3 separate regions of the Homo sapiens genome follow, and regions 2 and 3 are each linked to region 1. Evidence: promoter capture Hi-C in human tissues and cell types (Jung and others, 2019). All regions are on one chromosome and are shown on one strand. The core of a region is centred on a gene start or on the middle of the fragment in contact, and the rest is flanking DNA. Distances in the headings are between cores, read along the strand shown.

What was found. The method cuts DNA at HindIII sites, captures the fragments that hold promoters and counts their contacts. A contact is called where the count stands out against the background at its distance.
Region 2: a contact is called between a fragment that was not itself captured here and the fragment with the promoter of HSPA5 in region 1, in 1 of the 25 tissues and cell types used here (mesenchymal stem cells).
Region 3: a contact is called between a fragment that was not itself captured here and the fragment with the promoter of HSPA5 in region 1, in 1 of the 25 tissues and cell types used here (mesenchymal stem cells).

What each region holds. Positions count from the first base shown.
Region 1 is chr9:125,239,688-125,242,995 of GRCh38, reverse strand. HSPA5 (heat shock protein family A (Hsp70) member 5) reads left to right here and starts at 1,653. Exons shown (of 8, transcript NM_005347.5): 1 at 1,653-1,991; 2 at 2,089-2,320; 3 at 2,687-2,824. The coding sequence starts at 1,870. It overlaps HSPA5-DT (HSPA5 divergent transcript), which reads right to left and starts at 1,340. Exons shown (of 3, transcript NR_186826.1): 1 at 933-1,340. RefSeq lists enhancers at 1,055-1,364, 1,014-1,518, 1,332-1,626, 1,519-2,023, 2,165-2,244. The HindIII fragment of the contact is 17,872 bases long and covers 1-3,308 here.
Region 2 is chr9:125,522,380-125,525,687 of GRCh38, reverse strand. The region is part of intron 7 of MAPKAP1 (MAPK associated protein 1); the gene reads left to right. Among named protein-coding and RNA genes, the nearest start is that of MAPKAP1, 180 kb to the left of the region's middle. The HindIII fragment of the contact is 6,094 bases long and covers 1-3,308 here.
Region 3 is chr9:124,978,202-124,981,509 of GRCh38, reverse strand. The region is part of intron 14 of SCAI (suppressor of cancer cell invasion); the gene reads left to right. Among named protein-coding and RNA genes, the nearest start is that of GOLGA1, 39 kb to the right of the region's middle. The HindIII fragment of the contact is 5,236 bases long and covers 1-3,308 here.

The DNA of each region.
Region 1 (3,308 bases), core at 404-2,903:
CCTCGGCCTCCCAAAGTGTTGGGATTACAGGCGTGAGCCACCACGCCCGGCCACAGATGAATTTTTTGTTTTAAAGTTAAGAGATCAGGCACAGTGTCTCACACCTGTAATCCCAGCACTTTGGGAGGCCGAGGTGGGCAGATCGCTTGAGGTTGGGAGTTCGAAACCAGCCTGGCTAAAATGGTGAAACCTCATCTCCACAAAAAAAAAAAAAAAAAAATTAGCCAGGCATGGTGGTGCGTGCCTGTAATCCCAGCTACTCAGGAGGCTGAGGCAGGAGAATCGCTTGAACCCCGGAAGCGGAGGTTGCAGTGAGCTGAGATTGCACTACTGAACTCCAGCCTGGGCGTGACAGAGTGATACTCCGTCTTGAAAAAAAAAAAAGTATTGGCAATAGAGTGAACTCCACCTGGTTATCAATCCTAACTCCATCACTCACCAGCTCTGTGACTTGTTTAGTTATTTAATCTTTTTCAGTTTCAATGTCCTCATCTGGAAAACGGGAAATGCCTACCGAGTATTGAACTGTCAAGACTAAATGACACATGAAAAGCACACTGAACAATGCTTAATCCACGGTAGGCTTTCAGCAAATAGTGGTCTCTATTATTTTTTGCAACAGGATGTTATATAAGAATAAGGCATTATCAAGACGATTTTCGCCTATCAAATGTGTTGTCTGCGTGTACATCAGACCTTTTCCTGGAATGAAGGTAGAAAAGTATCAACAATAAAGGATGGAGAAAGCCCCGTAAATGATAACCTTTGCCCCAGAGGGAAAGGATGGGCAGCGGAGGGGAAAGTAAAGGGTGGCAAGCTAGAAAAATTAGACATCCAGTGTGGGAGGGCTGGCACTGGAGTGGGTTGCCACAGTAGGGAGGGGACTCAGAGCTGGAGGCAATTCCTTTGGCCGGGCTTGTCCTGCGACTTACCGTGGGGCAGCGCAATGTGGAGAGGCCTGGTAAAATGGCTGGGCAAGGGTGCGGAGGGGACATAACTGGCAGGAAGGAGTCATGATTCGTGGTCGAACAGAGTCCAGACCAGCTCGACCTGTGAGCAACGAACGGCCCTGAGACTCGCATACCCCAATACCGGTAGTGGCCGTGAAGGGCAAAGAAATGTGTTCTGAGGCGATCCCAGCATCTAAGCTGCGACTGGTCTACTCAGAGACTGGATGGAAGCTGGGAAGAGAAAGCTGCTTCCCGCTTCGGGGTGAGGGATGGAGGAAGGGAGAACAAGCAGTAGAGAAGAAAAAGTTTCAGATCCCACAGCCCCGGGGGGTCACTCCTGCTGGACCTACTCCGACCCCCTAGGGCCGGGAGTGAAGGCGGGACTTGTGCGGTTACCAGCGGAAATGCCTCGGGGTCAGAAGTCGCAGGAGAGATAGACAGCTGCTGAACCAATGGGACCAGCGGATGGGGCGGATGTTATCTACCATTGGTGAACGTTAGAAACGAATAGCAGCCAATGAATCAGCTGGGGGGGGCGGAGCAGTGACGTTTATTGCGGAGGGGGCCGCTTCGAATCGGCGGCGGCCAGCTTGGTGGCCTGGGCCAATGAACGGCCTCCAACGAGCAGGGCCTTCACCAATCGGCGGCCTCCACGACGGGGCTGGGGGAGGGTATATAAGCCGAGTAGGCGACGGTGAGGTCGACGCCGGCCAAGACAGCACAGACAGATTGACCTATTGGGGTGTTTCGCGAGTGTGAGAGGGAAGCGCCGCGGCCTGTATTTCTAGACCTGCCCTTCGCCTGGTTCGTGGCGCCTTGTGACCCCGGGCCCCTGCCGCCTGCAAGTCGGAAATTGCGCTGTGCTCCTGTGCTACGGCCTGTGGCTGGACTGCCTGCTGCTGCCCAACTGGCTGGCAAGATGAAGCTCTCCCTGGTGGCCGCGATGCTGCTGCTGCTCAGCGCGGCGCGGGCCGAGGAGGAGGACAAGAAGGAGGACGTGGGCACGGTGGTCGGCATCGACCTGGGGACCACCTACTCCTGGTAAGTGGGGTTGCGGATGCAGGGGGACGGGGCGTGGCCGCCTGGCCTGGCGTGAGAAGTGCGGTGCTGATGTCCCTCTGTCGGGTTTTTCTGCCAGCGTCGGCGTGTTCAAGAACGGCCGCGTGGAGATCATCGCCAACGATCAGGGCAACCGCATCACGCCGTCCTATGTCGCCTTCACTCCTGAAGGGGAACGTCTGATTGGCGATGCCGCCAAGAACCAGCTCACCTCCAACCCCGAGAACACGGTCTTTGACGCCAAGCGGCTCATCGGCCGCACGTGGAATGACCCGTCTGTGCAGCAGGACATCAAGTTCTTGCCGTTCAAGGTTCGACCGGGTTTTTCTCATCCAGTTAGAGAACGGGTGGGTGGTGGGAGTATTTAGAGTTATAAGTCTCTGGAAAAGTGTTGAGACAACAGTTGAAGGTTATAGACATGATGTATGTAATAACTTTAATACTATTAGTATGTTACAAAACTTAAGACAGTTGCTGTCGTACTGTCTACGATAGTTTAGGAATAAAAGACCGATTAAAACTGAACTTTGTAAGACACCTATACTCCCTGAAGTATTTCTAGTCAATTTGCAGCCCCAAGGGACCAAAATAAACCAAATTGTGGGGATGGTAGTGGGTCTTTTAAACTTTGAGATGTCATTGTATCTGTGTCTGAAAACAATAATTCTTTAAAATAGGTGGTTGAAAAGAAAACTAAACCATACATTCAAGTTGATATTGGAGGTGGGCAAACAAAGACATTTGCTCCTGAAGAAATTTCTGCCATGGTTCTCACTAAAATGAAAGAAACCGCTGAGGCTTATTTGGGAAAGAAGGTAAATATTTCTAGAACAATGTTAAGTATTTTTTGATCATTAGTATTCTCGGTTGGCTGTTATGTATAGAAGCCTTCGTGAAGGGTTTCAAAAATTTTAATCAGAATGGTATTCATGCTTGTCAGGTTTAATTATTGAGTCCCTTACTATAAGCCAAACAAAATAGACTTTTCATGTATTATTTAATGCTTACAATTCCAGGGACATAAAATTTTATATGTTGTATTCATCAATAAGTTGGCTTAAAAACTAAAGTGATGGTTTGACTGTAATTTTTTTTTTTTGAGATGGAGTCTTGCTCTGTTGCCCAGGCTGGACTGCAGTGGCACGATCTCAGCTCACTGCAACCTCTGCCTCCCGGGTTCAAGCAGCTCTCCTGCCTCAGCCTCCCAAGTAACTGGAACTACAGGCACACCACCACACCTGGCTAATTTTTTTTTTTTTTTTTAATTTTCAGTAGAGACAGGGTTTCTCCACATTGCCC
Region 2 (3,308 bases), core at 475-2,974, 280 kb before region 1:
TTTTTGTTTTGTTTGAGATGGAGTTTTGCTCTTGTTGCCCAGGCTGGAGTGCAATGGCGCAATCTCAGCTCACCACAACCTCCGCCTCCCAGGTTCAAGTGATTCTCCTGCCTCAGCCTCCCAAGTAGCTGGGATTACAGGCATGCGCCACCGCACCCGGCTAATTTTGTATTTTTAGTAGAGAAGGAATTTCTTCATGTTGGTCAGGCTGGTCTTGAACCCCCGACCTCAGGTGATCTGCCCACCTCAGCCTCCCAAAGTGCTGTGATTACAGGCGTGAGCCACCGCGCCCGGCCTCCTGTTACTTTTTCTAGCTCTCTGATAAGTTTCTTAACCTGTTTGAACTTCGTTTTCCTCATTTATGAATGAAAATAATAATAATGTCTTCTTCATAGCATTATTGTGAGAATTAAGCAGCGATCCTTGCAAAGCACCAAGGACCCAGTAAGTCTTTGCTGTTATTATCTTATCACTCAGTAAATGTTAGTCCTGTCCCCTCCTTTCAGTTTCAGTCATGAAACCTAGTCAGACTCACAATTTTGTGATCTAATGCTCTTTTTGTATGAATATGACTGCTTTGAGTTATAGTTCAAAAGAGACTCTAGCTGCTAAGGAACCCAGCTCAAATTGAGTCCATGTATTAGGTACAGCCCAGAATGTGTGCATCTGTCTGCGCAGCTGCTCATTTGGGCTTTTCCAGGGGTCCGAGGCCCCTTGTCAGAGCAGCAGAGCATCAGCAAGAACATAGGAGTGCACGTGTAGGAATGACCTAGCCTTCCTCTGGAGCACCCTGCATCTGGAGCAGGATATGCAGAAGGGTTAAAAGCTGGAGAAACTTTAGTCATAAATTTTCTTTTCAGCAGGACTTCCCAGGGAACATCTGACATTAGCAGAGAGGAAATGCTGATTGGCCTGGGAGTCAGCTGAAGGAGACAGGAACTGCAGTGGAAGCTGCTGGATTTACTGTTATTAGCAAGGCAAATGGAAAGCCAGCAGGGCAGCCCAGCTCCCAGATAATAGATCTAACAAGAAAGAAAACTCTGAGAAAGGAAAATGGCTGACAGCCACGTCTCCTCTTCTGCCATTTTTCCCATTGCTTTTACCTTTTTGTTTTGTTTGTAGCACAAAGAGAAGCAACATGTTCGGTTGTAAGTCACAATTGGCTTAAAATAAAACAGGATATATAATTCAGCTTCTTACCTGTTTAAGATAAGAAGCTTGAGAGTTGAACATGGCAAAATGTGCAAAATTGTATTAATGTATTAAGAAATAGTTGCTATTTATTGAGCACTTATGTGCCAAACTAAGTGCTTTACATGTGTTATCTCATTTAATCTGTATAATAACCACATGAGTTAGAAATTATCATCATTCCCCACTTAGAGATAAGGAACCAGTGCTTAGAGCACTTAAGTAATTTCCAAAGGTCTTATGAATTGGTGGTAGTGCTTGACCCCACCATCACTGTCCTACCAACCTAGTAGAAGGTACTGAGGTGAGAACTTAAATGGCTGTTATAAAGCTGGACAGGGTAGTGGTAATTAAAGTGCTGGGAGTGTATTTAGGGCAACCTAAATCTATGCTCCTAGGTTGCAGTCCTCAAGCCTGGCCTCTTTACTTACGTAAAAAAATAAAAAATAAATAAATAAATAAGTACTCACCAAGGCTTGTGTTCTGACTTGAAACACAAACCTCAGTTGGCACAATGGTTATTAGAAGGAAGATGGGGCAGGCAGAGAGAAGCCCTGTTGACAGGTGGAGCCAATCTCTGAAGGATCTGGCCCCCACAGCAGGGAACAGGGCAGATGGGCAGTCAGCAGTGGGGGGCCATAAGGACAGCGGGGGAACTGCAGGTCCTGGCAGCAAGGACCAGGGAAGCAGATGATGCTCAGCACCTGGGGGTGGCCGTACCAAGAGCCACAGCTTATCCAGGGTTAGATCACAAAGGCAACAGGTGAGTAAAAATCCCATTGTCAAAATTACCTGTGGGAAAGAAAAATCTCTTTAAAAATGCCCATCAGAGGCAATGTAATTTTTCTCATTAAATTCACACAGCTTTTTTCTCTAGCATCGTAACAGCTAAAAGTACATATTTTTAAATGCTAAAATCAAACTTGGTCTAGAAAGACTGAGATACTATCATCCACCCATTTAATGCAGTTAGTCACTTATCACACATTTACAAGGTTCCATAGTTGCAAAGATGATTTCTGGACTCCTGCCTCATATTCCCACTCTTGGGGCTCATTGGATCACTGAGAGTCATGGCAAGTGGAATTCTCCCAACTGCTTAAATTGTGCTCTTGGTCAGGTCTCCCTCTTTTTTTCCTCTTTTCTACCTAGCAAGTATGGTTGAATTCAGATAAATTAAATGTATGATTTATGCACAAGGAAATCCAGGCGGGCAGGCAGTATCAGAGGGCAGGGCAGGATTTTCAGAGAGACACACTGGGAACCTAGCATGGCACCAGGCCTGAGGGCAGGGTTCTGGGCAGGATTGGGCCAGGAGCAAGGACAGTTAACTGAATGAGATGTAAAGGCCAAGGCTAGAGTTTTTAAAAAGGAAGCCCTGTTTTTGGTTGGCTGGGGATTGTAGAAATCCTATTGCCTTGAAGACGTTAACTGGTGCAACTTTCCCTATTGTGGGGAAAGGAAGGAGGCCAGTCTGGGACTCTGGTTGGGCCTGATATCATGGGGTCAGAAGGAGAGAAGATAAGACTTAGGGGATAATCAAAAAGGAGGGATGTGATTTTGACAAGCTGACGGAGTCAGTCTGGGTGAAGGGAAGGGCACAGCAGTGACATGGAGGTAGGAAACCAGGACATATATGCACTGAACAGTGAGTCTAGTTTGGGTCATAAAGGACATAGATGGACAAGAAATTAGGATGGATAGAAAGCCTTGAGAGTGGGGTAAGGAATTTGCATCTAAACTAGTAGCCTGCAAGGAAGTTGTGAAGGGATTGTATGAAAGTGATACCTTGAATCTACCAGAATTTGGCTCTGGAGAGCACTCTAACAATAGGGTGAAGAGTGGTTGGCTGGAGGCCAGAAGAAGGTTGGGAAACCATTACTGCGGCCTGAGTGAGAAGGAATGCAAGGGAGATGTATTAAGTGGGTAGAGTCTGCAGAACTTGGGAGCCGATTTAATGTCATCAACAAGGGGGAAGGCTAAGAAGTATTCCAAACTTGAGAGTGCCGTGTTCACTATGCCAAGTCCTTAGAGGCCAGATGCAGAGTCTTGTTCATCTTCATATCTACAGTGACTAGCTCATGACATGGCACATGGTAGGAGTTTAGTACAGTTTG
Region 3 (3,308 bases), core at 559-3,058, 260 kb after region 1:
AACGTTGTACTTAGAGAAACACTAAAAGTATGTTCAATTAAAATAAGAAAAAGAGAATGCCTGTTACTATCATTATGATACACTATTACTTTTGTCCCAACTAGAAATTCATAACATTCCCCAAATAAAACAATAACAAGAGTTGTTCGGATTAGTAGAAGAGGACACAAAACAGTAAATATTGGAAAGAATGAGATGAAAACCACTAGTTGCAGACGGTATGATTTTATATTTGGAAAATCAAGAGAATCACAGAAAAGCTACTAATATGAATATAAATTCATCAAAGTGGTTAGATATAGGACAAACATACAAAATTCAATAGCAACTTTATATATGAGCTATGTCTGGTTCAAATTTATTCATTTGTATATATTTGCTATAATTTTTCTTAAACTTAATAGCTTTGAATCGTACACTTCATCTGTGTGGGCAGTTATGATATATTCTGCAAAAACTTGCAAATAAAGATTATAAGATTATCCTATGGGAGTTAAACTATAAAATTAATTAATGAATAGATCAGAACAGAGTAAAGCCACATGTAAAGCACCTTAAAGAAACTATTTCTCAGGCCTAAAATTTAATTATAATCTGATAGAAGGTATTCATGTATTTATGTCAGAGGTCTCCAAGATGATTCCCAGGTTCAGTGATTTCCTAGGAAGATTCACAGGACTCGGCATATAGTCGTACTCACTGCTAAGATTTAGTACAGTAAAAGGATACAGAGCAAAACCAGCAAAAGAAAAAGATAAGTGGGGTGAGTTTGGAGAAAACCAAGTACAAACTTCCAGGGGCCCTCTTCCAGCGGAGTCACACAGGATACACTTAATTACCCAACCAACAAGTTGTGACAACATGGATTAAATATTATCTACCAGCAAAGCTCATTAGGAACTCAGCAACCAGGGTTTTTATTGGGAACTGGTCTTGTGGGCACTCTCTGCCTGGCTCTTAACAAAATGCTACACTCCCAGAAGGAAAGCAGGTGTTCAGTATAAACCATCTTGTTTGCACATTCTAGGGACAGCGAGCCACTCTTTATCAGTTCTGCTAATGGTAGGAATTTTCACCAAAACTAAGTTCCCAGAAGCCAGCCAGGGGCCAACCCAATAAGCAAAACTTTCGAAGGATGGCAGTCTGGCTTGCTATGCTAACTCTTCTCTGCACAGTATTATTGGGGGAAAAAAAAAAAAGTCAGGAGAGAAGTTCGTTAGCAAGGAGTGCAAAGAAAAAGGAGACCTTTAGAAATAAATAATAGCAATGTCCATTTTAGCACTATCTAAGAGGAAAAGCGACATGGCTAAGATCCCTAAAGCCATCTTTAGGGATCTGTAGTGCAGAAAATGCCTCAATCTGCCTTATCAAAAGAATCATTCAATTTACTCCCTGTGTTTGGATTACAAAATATTTCTAATATATCTGAATTACTTGCTTAATTTTTTTTTTTTTTTTTTGAGACGGAGTCTTGCTCTGTCACCCAGGCTGGAGTGCAGTGGTCCGATCTCAGCTCACTGCAACCTCTGCCTCCCAGGTTCATGCCATTCTCCTGCCTCAGCCTCCCGAGTAGCTGGGACTACAGGCACCTGCCACCATGCCCGGCTAATTTTTTTGTGTTTTTAGTAGAGATGGGGTTTCACCGTGTTAGCCAGGATGGTCTCGATCACCCGACCTCGTGATCCGCCCGCCTGGGCCTCCCAGAGTGCTGGGATTACAGGCGTGAGCCACCGCGCCCAGCCTATTTGCTTAATATTTTTAGTACTGGTATTACATTCACAAAGTCACAGAATCAAAAATTTCAAGAAGTCATATTGTGAAATCTCTTCCTCCCGCCTAGTCCCAATGCACTAAATTCCTATCTCTCCCTATAGATAATCACTGTTACCTGTTTCTTATCCTTTTAGAAAAAAAGTTGTAAATGGATATACAAACTAAAACAAATAGTCTTTTTTTTATTTTTATTTTTTGAGATGGAGTCTTCATCTGTTGCCCAGGCTAGGGTACAGTGACATGATCTTGGCTCACTGCAACCTCCGCCTCCTGGGTTCTAGCAATTCTCCTGCCTCAGCCTACCTAGTAGCTGGGATTACAAGCACACGCCACCATGCCCGGCTAATTTTTGTATTTTTAGTAGAGATGGGCTTTCACCATGTTGGTCAGGTCGGTCTCAAATTCCTGACTCAAATGATCTGCCTGCCCTTGGCCTCTCAAAGTGCTGGGATTACAGGCATGAGACACACCATGCCCAGCCAAGAAATAGTCTTTAGTTTTCTTAGTTATATAAATAGTAGTAACATCTTGTACCACATTGCACCATATCTTTTTTCATTTAATAAGAAGTATTGAGGCTGGGCATGGTGGCTCACACTTGTAATCCCAGCACTTTGGGAGGCTGAGGCAGGCAGATCACTTGAGGTCAGGAGTTCAAGACCAGCCTGGTCAACATGGCGAAACCCCGTCTCTACTAAAAACACAAAAATTAGCCAGGCACAGTGGCATTCCCCTGTAATCCCAGCTACTCAGGAGGCTGAGGCACAAGAATCACTTGAACCTGGGCAGCGGAGGTTACAGTGAGCTGAGAGGTGGAGGTTGCACTCCAGCCTGGGCGACAGAGCGAAACTGTTTCAAAAAAAAAAGAAAAAAAGTATTGGTGACCCTTCATACCTGTTCATAAAGAACTTCTTTGTTCTTTTTTATAGCTGTTTATTATTCCATTGTATTATTGTAGCATAATTTATTGTACCAATCCTGTATTTCTGGTCATTTGGTTGTGTTATTTCCATTCCTTCACTATCACTAACAAGGCTTCAAGGAATAATTTAATACTTACGTTATTTTATTAGTTGCATAGTGTATCTATAGGGAAAATTTCTAGTTTGGGAATTTCTGTGTTAATATGCATTTGAGTGTAATAGATGCTGCCAAGTTAAATTGTCTTCTAAAGTGTTTATATCAATTTATACTCCTATTACCTACATATGAGTATTTCCCCACATTCTTGCCAACAGTGTATATTCTCAAACTTTTAGAAATTTTGCTTAACTGATAGGGTAAAAATGGAATTTTGAGATGGAGTCTCGCTCTGTCATCCAGGCTGGAGTGCAGTGGTGCGATCTTGGCTCCCTGCAGCCTCCGCTTCCCGGGTTCAAGTGACTCTCCTGCCTCAGCTTCCTGAGTAGCTGGAATTACAGGCATGCGCTACCACGCCCAGCTAATTTTTGTATTTTTAGTGGAAACGGGGTTTCATTATGTTGGCCAGGCTGGTCTCCACTCCTGACCTCAGGTGATCTGCCCACCTCTGCCTC